Linked DNA regions of Homo sapiens: region 2 is linked to region 1. Evidence: promoter capture Hi-C in 16 types of primary human blood cells and fetal thymus (Javierre and others, 2016). All regions are on one chromosome and are shown on one strand. The core of a region is centred on a gene start or on the middle of the fragment in contact, and the rest is flanking DNA. Distances in the headings are between cores, read along the strand shown.

What was found. The method cuts DNA at HindIII sites, captures the fragments that hold promoters and counts their contacts. A CHiCAGO score of 5 or more calls a contact.
Region 2: the fragment with the promoter of UTP23 here is called in contact with a fragment that was not itself captured in region 1 in 1 of 17 cell types (non-activated CD4 T cells); the score reaches 5.0 in non-activated CD4 T cells.

The regions. Positions count from the first base shown.
Region 1 is chr8:116,469,710-116,475,115 of GRCh38, forward strand. It overlaps LOC105375711 (a long non-coding RNA gene), which reads left to right. Exons shown (of 3, transcript XR_928551.3): 3 at 4,618-4,694. Among named protein-coding and RNA genes, the nearest start is that of LINC00536, 150 kb to the left of the region's middle. The HindIII fragment of the contact is 1,042 bases long and covers 1,248-2,289 here.
Region 2 is chr8:116,763,319-116,768,256 of GRCh38, forward strand. UTP23 (UTP23 small subunit processome component) reads left to right here and starts at 3,206. Exons shown (of 3, transcript NM_032334.3): 1 at 3,206-3,473. The coding sequence starts at 3,286. It also overlaps a transcript of EIF3H not described here. RefSeq lists enhancers at 3,123-3,272, 3,283-3,592. The HindIII fragment of the contact is 9,967 bases long and covers 1-4,197 here.

The DNA of each region.
Region 1 (5,406 bases), core at 519-3,018:
GCCCAAGATGTAGTCATACCTTTACGAAATGACATTTGAGTTCCCGGATCTGGTAGTTCTCTGCCAAAATACAATAAGGTGCCCTCACCTAAATGGCCTCCCCCAGTATGCAGAGACCAAGTAATTTATTAGTAAATTCACAAATTAATTAACATTTAAAGTAGTACAATTTGTACCTACTGCATGTATACTTTAGGAAGGACAGTAGTAGAGAAACCACAGTAGTCCAAAAGCTTTGTCTACGTGACCAGGAGATAGAGTCCTCAGTGGTTAAGAACCTGCCATGAACTTGGTTCTCAGATAAACCCAGACCTAAAGCTCATTTCTACTACTTGCTGGCTGTGTGGTCTTAAACCTCTCAGAGCCCTGGTATTCACACATAAGTAGACTAATAGTATCCACCTCTAAGGTATTATAGACAAAGTTCCTTTTTGTAACAATGACTGGAACAAAAAATACTTGTTGTTTGGTATTATTACTATTATTATATATTGTATTCTTTCTATATAATCTCTTAAATATTCTTACAAAAAAGAATCATTTACAAGAAGAGATTAGAAGAAGCAGTCCCAATGAATTGCAAAAGTATTTTAACAACTTTTTATGTTTCATGAAAACAGTCAGAGAAAAATACTCTACAAAAAGATCAATTATTTTGCTTCATAGAAAAGACTGATAATTTAAACTATTCCCCCCTTTTCCGTTTTCCATCAATAAACCTACATGGACATGAGCCCGCATATGCCAGTGCATGATTATGCCCAGCTTGATATAGTTTAGGTATCCAATGTTATCACAGATGTTTCAGCCCTTGAGACATATATTATATTGCATGTCCATAAAATAAGACAGAAAAACATCACATTCTGACAAACCTGGCATCATATGCACTGACTATTGGCATTTCCAGTGCAGGCACTGTCTCTTTAAACAAGTTTCACATTTAAACAGACCTCACTGAATCTGATGGTGCCAGAACTTCACCAGCTTGCCTCTGAAGAGCAAGACAAAACTTTCTGAATCAGATAAGACACAAACTGTATTTTTCTTCCACAGGTATTTGTTCAGGAGCTGATTTCCTTGGGGGCAGCAGAAAGGGCTTAAGTTGCTGACACTCACTACACCAGTTAGAACCAAACAACGGGGTTTCTCATTCCCTTCAAAGCATAATTCAGAAAATGTAAAAGAGCCTTCCAAGTTCAACACTAAATATAATAATAATAATACACCACCATAATTTAGATCAAAGCTTACATATTTTGACAATGCTGTTGGAAGAGTTCCAATGAAAAGAAAAGTGTTCAGTCATTTAGAAGACATTTACCAAGCATCTACTATGTAGGAGGCTCTATTCCAGGCTCTGGGAATATAGTGGTGAATAACACAGATGATAAGAGCTGCCTGTGCAAAACAGTCCTTATTTTTAAGATGTCTTCTAGGCCCTGGCCTTGTGCATTAGCTGAGGCAGGGAGGCAAGTGATGGCCATCATAAGGCATGGACTTTGGCGTCACAATGACCAGGGTTCAGTTCCTAGCATCCCTGTATTGTAACGTTGGCCAAGTTGCTTCACCTCTCTGAGCTTCCTCTGGTGTCAGATCAAGATATTAATGGCGCCCTCCTTAGAGAACTGTTGTAAGGATTAGCTACTTCAGACTGTCACCTAGACAACAGTCAACAAAAAGCAATTTATTCCATTCCCTTGTTCAAGCCCAGTTATCCTTACTGGATAAGGAAATATGTAAAGACAAGACGTGGAAGTAATAAGTGGGTTTGTCTCTGAAATCAAGGTGGGCACTCAAACAATTAGGCAGCATTTTGATATTTGAGTCTTCTATTAGTAATTCAGGAAGCTGTAAAAGATGAGCAGCACACATTGCCTCCTTGTTTTATCCTTTAAATTACTTTAATCAGTGATTCTTTGAGAAGCATAAAGTCAAAAAAAAAAGAAATAACAAAACTCTGAGATATCTGAATCTATAAATGCTTACCGAAAAAACAACAACAACAACAACAAAAAACTGCCATGATCTGCTGGAGACCCACATGAAAACTTGGATACTGCTTTCTTCTCACAAACCCTTCCCAGTTTTGAAAATAAAGCTCAAACACTTTGCCTCCGTTCAGTTCAGCAAAGGTAGCAGCTTAGACATAAAAGTGCAAACACTGGAGGGGGAAAAAAAAAAAAACAGCCGTGGCTGGCTGCCAGCTCTTGGCCAATCAGTCTTCACAAGGAAGGTTGCGTCAGAGGCTTTGAGCCTGCTGGAACCTCTGCAGCTGCCTGCAACACAAGCTTGGACCACCCAGGCCGAAGTGGATGGGCATCTGGAGAAACGCGCAAACAATGGAGAACGTTAGAGTCCTGCATTTCCAAGCCAGTGATTCTGTCCCTAGGCTTAGCTGGGACTTTGAGAAAGTCCTGGGCTAAAAAGAAATCTAATATAAGCTAACTGGCCCTACTATTAAATTGCTGTCTCAGGTCAGCAGCATAACCCCCAGAATGGAAAAATATTTTTTCAGTGGAAAATCACCCGTCTCAGTATTCATGGATCTAGTTTTCAACGGGTGTTGGGCTCCCACCCAATGTAATTAACATCTTACCTGTGGGTGGCTGGTAGAATTGCTTTACACCTCTCTCATCAACCCAGCACCTAACACTTCCTGAAATGCAATATACAAACAAATAGGAAATTATGTTTCTGAAAATAGACTATTTGGTTGGGGGCTCTCTGGTAGCCCCTCAGTTCTTCTCTCAGCAAATTTATTTTTTCTAATTTAAATGTCAGAGAACAGGCCCACATCATTCAAAGCCTTGCTCAAACATAAGCCATGCCAACTTGTTATAATTACAATGAGATACAATAGCGGACGTGGGGAAAGCCTAATTAAAGAGTTGGACCTGGCATCCCAGATGGAAAGCAAAGTACGTGGCCTTCTATCAGATCTGAATAAAAACCCTGCTCACTGATGATGGATGTCTCTAGGAAACACACACCCTCCCAGGACCCAAAGTACAGATGCTCGGGAAGGAGTAGGAGAGAAACATTCTGCTAAGACAGAAACTGAAACTAAAACCCGGGGGGAAAGCACTCATGCCTGCATCCCAACCCCAGTGACTCTGATTTAATAGGGTCTGGGGTGCAGCCTGAGTGCCAAATTTTTTTAATTCTCCAAGTGATAGTATTGTGCAGCCAAGATTGAGAAACCCTACAAAATATTCCTTAGATAATGACCTCCACTTTAACAGAATATTTAACTAGGAAGTCAGTGTATTATGGCAGAGTAATTTACCAGATCTAACAGAGCAAAGCATAGCAATAATTTTCTACACTGCACTATAAATGTTGATTGTGCCTCCTGAACTAGACTGGAAGCTTCAAGGGGGTGTTTTATCTCCAGCTCCTAAGAGAGGGATGTAGACATAGCAAATAGAAGCATTTGCTCAATCATCAGATAGATGCTTAGAAAACATCATACTGTCTGGATGTTTAAGCAGAAAGACAAACTTTACAGCCACCGTTTTTTCTACAATCCTCTAAAGCATTTATTTTTCAAAATGTAATGTGCATGAGAGGCTTACTAAATATGTAGGTTCTTATGCCTCACCTAGAACCTAAAGAGATACTCAGAAAAATTCAGTCCAGTTCAGCAGTAACTGCACAAGAATTCCTCCATTGCCCGGTACAACCCGGGAACAAAACAGCCCAGTGGCATATCTATATATCTGAGATGAGAGTCCACAAACAACCCGCTAAACAAGAAAAACCTCCTTTCATCTAAGTTCTTGAAGCCAAAGATACATCATAGGTTAATTATACAAAGGGCATGAAAGAGTTGTGTAGTTCACTTCAATTCAACACAGAGAGAGCTGCTCTTATAGATTTAACATAAGTAGTAAAAAATGGGGTGGAGTGAAAATTCTGGATTCGGTGTGGGATTCTCAGCAGTAAGAGGCAGTGTTTCTGGCTGAAAGCTACACTTTATACTCAGTGAAGGGAATCCAGATGCGTTCCCTTCCAGAGTTCATTGCAGGGCTTGAATTGAAGCTGCATTTCTTGTTACCTTAGGTAGGCTCTATAGGAGCCAACTTTTAGGAAAACCAACAAAGCAAGTAATCTTATATCCTCAGAAGAGATTAGGCAATACACTGTGATATAGAGTTCCAATATCATCGTGAAACACAAAAGTCTCTGCATGCAGTTCTTCCTCTAAAGTGAGTATGACCCCAGGGTGGAAAAGGATTTCTTTTCTTCAAGTAACAGGCTTAGAATTTAATGGTGCCATTATACAGATTTCCTTCAAATTCTAGTCTAGTCTCATACTTGCTGTGTGACTTTGGCAAGTTACTTAACCCATCTGAATCTCCATTTATTCATCCTTGCCATGGGAGATTTTTGCTTATTGCAGAGTTATTGTGAAGTTGAAATGTAAATTACTCAGCAGAGTTCTCATATTAACTGATGAGGAAAAAGAGAATTGCACCTTCTGTACCTTCTGCTGGTCCTAGGCAAGGTGAAATTCTTCATGCCCAGTTGTCTAGTCACAATCCCTGTGCTTTCTCTACAGTTGTTTTATTTGAACCACTGAATTGTTTTCTCCACCCTTCTTTATTCCTGCAGAGAAAACTCTTCAAAGAACTACAGGGGGCCGGGCGCAGTGACTTATGCCTGCAATCCCAGCACTTTGGGAGGCTGAGGTGGGCAGATCACTTGAGATCAGGAGCTCAAGACCAGCCTGACCAACATGGTGAAATCTGTCTCTACTAAAATACAAGAATTAGCTGGGTGTGGTGGCTCACGCCTGTAATCCCAGCTACTCGGGAGGCTGAGGCAGGAGAATCGCTTGAACCTGGGAGGCAGAGGTTGCAGTGAGCCAAGATCACACCACTGCACTCCAGTCTGGGGGACAGAGCAAGACTCTGTCTCAAAAAATAAATAAATAAATAAATAAAAGAAATATAGGGGAACAACCCAGCATCAGCCCACATGAAACTATTAGGTTAGCTGCTATAACAAATAAACCACCAAGTTTTAACAGCTTAACACCTTAAGAACTGAGCTATCTACGTAACAGTCCAAAGCTGTTATTTCTGATTGGTGGGTAGTTTTGCCCATATGGTGATTAAGGGACCTGTTCCCTCCACCCGTGGCTCACCAGCCCCTAGACCTCAAAGGTTTCCGCATTCACTGGCAGACAGGAAATGACAATAGAAGAAGCCCAGCCTGTATCTTAAAAGCCCTGACCCAGAAGTTAGTGGCATTCCATCTGGTCTCATTCAGTTGGTGAGAAGAGTCTTATGGCTACCCCTAGAGAGAAAATAGAAGATAAAGTCCCTGACTGGACATCTCCTCCCAGCAACAACTCCACACTATGCAAAGCAGAATACAAACTTTCAGTGGATTGACATT
Region 2 (4,938 bases), core at 1,956-4,455, 300 kb after region 1:
TGGAAACATTGCCAAGAGATACATAATACATCATCAAAGTGTTATCTGGGCAAGGGGAGAAGAAATTACTATCTTCATGTTCTTCCACTTGTTTTAAGAGGCATATGTTATTTTTGTAATTTGAAATACATAAAGTTTTTGTTATTTTATTTTATTTTAAAGATTATTTTAAAAAGTGACAGCCTCCATATCTGACCTTTGTAACACCTTCTGACATATTTGAAATTTCACAGTAAGGCATTCCATGATGGAGCCTATCCTAGGGGATCTTAGCGAAGAACCTCATAGGACCTCAATACAAAGTGCTTTACCTAAGTTGTCGTAAAATATTTATTTAGCTAAATTATTTATTTAGGCAGTATGTTAGATAATGTTAGGTAGAAATTGTTTTTGAGCTAATGAATGTTAACAAATGTTTATAAATATTTAGATATGAATATAAGGAAGAATAATACCACAATAGATATGTTAGCTAAATTGTCTAACATTTACGAAATTAAACAAAATTATACTAACATTGATGAAATTCAACAAAGTAACCTTTATGAATTATATTTAATGTTTACCTCTTTAATTCCATTTAGGCCATGAATCTTTCATGAGAAAGTCCTATTTGGGAATTAGTCATACGTTTCAAAAATAAATTATTCTCATGTCAACTTGGCTTCATCAAAATTTCATGAAGAAAAAAACTTCAAAATCATGTACAACAGCATAATATTATAAAACTATATTTGATCCAGACATAATAAAATGAAGAACATAAAAAATAAAGAAAAATAAATTAATCGCCTACTTACTCCAGCTGAATGTGGATTTCTATTTGGCATGGAAAATGTCCAGTGGACTGACCTGAGAAAAAAGCTAAAAACTAGCAATGCTGTTATAAATTATTGTTCCTTCAGTATAAGGTCAAAAAAATTTCAATGAATATTAAATATTTTAATAATGACATAACTTTCAAAATAAAATTTCAGATTTAAATTTATATCCAAATGGTTCACTCAATAATGGCAGTATTTGGCTTCTGCCTTGGTTGTGGCTAAATATTGATTTTCCATTACAGATCATTTGGCATCTAAACAAAAGTGTATTAAGTGGACCAATTAATAAAAATATCTTATTGGATAAACGATGCTTTATTACAAAAAAGGTCCTTCAGGAACACTAATGAGCATAATAATGATTTGGGGAGATTGTAATAAATGTCACTTCCTCTTTGAATAGTACCCCTCTCCCTCAATACTTATTCTGAATCAGAAATGGGCATTTTAAACAAGCACACTAAGAGCTTTTTCTGCATATCCCAGGACCTTGTTTTGAGAAACACTGCTGTAATAGAAAACTCTATTTTTTTCTCTTTTTGTCTTCTTTTAATTTAGCAGAGACAGGGGCTCCCTATTTTGCCCAGGCTGGTTTCCAACTCCTGGGCTCAAGTGATCCTCCCGCCTCGGGCTCCCGAAGTTCTGGTATTACAGGCATGAGCCACCATGCCCGGCCGAAAACTTTGTTTTAAACTTGATAATCACCATTATAGACCATCTTCATGTTTTCATAATAAAGATAGGGTGCAAACTGGCACTGTCATATACATAGAGCTTGGGGAAAAAATGTGCTGTAGCTTGGTAAATTAAAAAACGACAACAAAAACTAAGATAAGACTAAAATCCCTAGTGCTGCACCACATTTTTCTTAGTACTGAAAAGTGGCCAAGGAGCTGGTAGATAAATCTGAGGCTATTTAAGAAAAAATGTTTTAACTGTTTTGCAAGACTCAGGTGGTATCTCGTTTCTCTGTCTGTGGTGGGCGCATAGTTGGAGTAGAGAGTTGGCATACAGGGATAAAAAGAGGATTCAAATTGAAAAGTACTGAGCAATTACACTCAAAGACCTTGAATCCAACCCTGCAAAAGTTTTCATGGCTTCCAATTCCTAAATTCATTTTAAGTTTAAATGAAAGCAACCATCTAAGTGATGTGCTGGGACTCAGATCAGGGCTAACATTATAGATCTTATTCCAATTTCATAAACCTACATATTGAAATAAAACCCCAAATGCAAACAATGCATTCAATCACGTTGTAAATCATTTTCTGTGCTGGTTCTTTCAATCTTTAGCCAAAACTAGATCTGGGACAGATTCCAGGCAAGGACAAAAATGCAAAATTCCATACTCCCCATTCTTTGATTATTTTACCTTGAAGTGGATACTCGACAGTTAGCCACGGGAGAACTTGAAATTTTCTGATTCATTCTCCTCATTAATCAAATTGACCAAGTAATTTTTAAACCTCCAGTCAGCTTTGTGCCTTCCTGTTACTGGCCCAGTATGTAGTCTTCCTATGTCAGAGACCATGCACATAAAAAGAGTACTTGAAACTTATCTAGACCTACAACCAGTTTGACAGTGAGGAAGTTGAACCCAGCTTTCTTCGGGAGTTGCCCAAGATCAAACGGCTTGGGTTTGTGGCAAAACCAGGACTCAAGGTTAGGAATTCTGACTCTAGGCAAACGAAGCTCTTGAGAGTTCTTCCAAAACACTCCATGCGAGTGATTTAGGATGGTCCTAAGGCAGGAGGAAATGCAAAATGGTGGCACCCTTTGCCCTGACAAATGGTTCCTGAGTGACGTTAGTTTCTATGGTGGTGTAGCAAGAACATTTGAACTTCAGGCACGAAAACTGGGTTCCAGACACTAACAAACTACGTGCCCTTCGTGAACGTGCTTAATTTCTTTATGGGAAAGCAGCCAGTACAAACCTCCCCACTCATAGCTATCCAATATATCATTTCCTTCTTTCACTTGGGAATTATAAACATTCAGGGGAATAATGTAAGGTAAATCACTTAGGACAGTGTCTGGAACATATTAAGGCTCAATATTATCACTGACTACTACTATACTGCCAGTCTTTCAGAGAAGCTCTTGCTACGCGCCTCTAAAACGTAGGTAACACGCTAAATGTATTCTCGTAATTTTCTTTTACCGTGGCCCCAGACTGCGCATGTGCGCCCCCGTGCGGAATCGCGCACCCCAGCGGTTTTCCAGCGTACGCACAAGTTCCGCCCTAAGGGACCGCCCCTTTAAGCGCGGGCACTGCGGTGGAAGCGCGCGCTGGTCTGGACATGACGTAAACCAATGGGCAGGCCCGGAAGACAGAGGCGTTTGCTTCCGTGGCCAAAGGCGCTTCATTTCCGGGTGAAACTGGCATTGAGGGTACTGGGGCGTGCGTGAGGCGTTTACTGATGCTTCCTGGTCCGGTGGCCTCGGTCCCGGTAAGCCAGGCATGAAGATCACAAGGCAGAAACATGCCAAGAAGCATCTTGGCTTCTTCCGCAACAACTTCGGAGTCCGCGAGCCGTACCAGATCCTGCTGGACGGCACCTTCTGTCAGGCGGCGCTGCGGGGCCGCATCCAGCTGCGGGAGCAGCTGCCCCGCTACCTCATGGGGGAGACGCAGCTGTGCACCACAAGGTGGGCCCGGGGGGCTGGGGAGGAGGCACAGAGGGTCCGTCGGGTGTTGTAGAGGCGAGGCCGTTGCTCACAGACCTTCATTGCGAGCTCAGGAGGTGCAAAACGCCCCGCCCACGTGGAGTTGACAGTTAAGTGGAGAGGTGAAGGTGGTCAGGCGAATACCTATAATAGAGGCAGATTGGACAGTGCCCTGTGAATATCACGTGTCGTTAGCCTGGCGAATGAGAGCACATTATAGCAGAGAGATCCGACTTCGAATCTTGATCCCAGTTCTACCAGCTCTGTGATTTCTGTCAAGTTATTTAGCCTCTCTGAGCCTCGGATTCCTCATTTGTAAAATAAAGATGATAACTGCTTAGAAGATTGCTGTAAGCTCAAACGAGTATAGTGTACTAGAGCATTTTTCGGTATCCAAAGTGTACCCGTCTTCAAATGGTTGCTGTCATTTGCATAGCTTTTCTTAGTTTAAACCAAAACTCTGCAAGCCTCACAGTGAACCTGTGAGTTACCATCTTTGATGTCCAGGGCAAAAAGTCAGTACTTGAGATTAAGGAATCTGCCCAAGCACATTTGTTTATTCAACTCGCTTTATTAAGTACCTCCTATATGCCACATACTGCTCCCTCATGGCCAGTAAAGTGCATAAGTCAGTCTGCAGTGTGTGTTTTCACTCTAGGTCTGATGTTTCCCCACTTCATTGAAATGTGGGAACACTTAGGATGGAAGCTTGTCGGGATGAAGAGGAGAGAGGAGAGAATTGTGACAGATTTCAGATAACATTTGAGCCCATTCACTTGTTCAGTTCTGAGAGGAAGAACTATTTTGAATGACAGAAAAGAATGACACTTCTTGTTGTGGAGACCTCTTCACACGAAATGGAGTTATGAAATGCCTGGGAAAGAGGTTGCAGCACAGAATATATTTGGGAGTGAAACTAGGAAGAAGGCAAATTGAGGCTAGGCCATGAAGAACTATTAAGAAATTTAGTAGTTTTTTCATTGTAGAATATTTACTTTTAAAAAGCAAAAAAAGAAAATTAAAATGACTCATAATACCACTACTCACGAATAATCACTGTTAACATGTGCAGTGTCATCCATCCAGTTCTTTATACACACTCACACAAGCACAAGAATGGACTTTTAAGCCAGGCAAGGTGGCTCACACTTGTAATCCTAGTAGCTACACAGGAGGCTGAGACAGGAGGGTTGCCTGAGTCTAGGAGTTTGAGGTGAGCCTGAGCAACGTAGGAAACCCCCATCTCTAACTACAGCCATAACAAAGTATGGGCTTTTTCTGTGTATACTGTGTTAATAGTCTCCTTTTCCTCACATACGATTACTTAATGAACAGCTATCTGTATTTGTTCAGAATTTCTCAAGCAGGGTCTCGGCTGGGTTACAGATACCCCCAAAGTTTTGATCCCCTTAGTCTTTAGGGCTGTCTAACAAATCCTTCAGTAGTC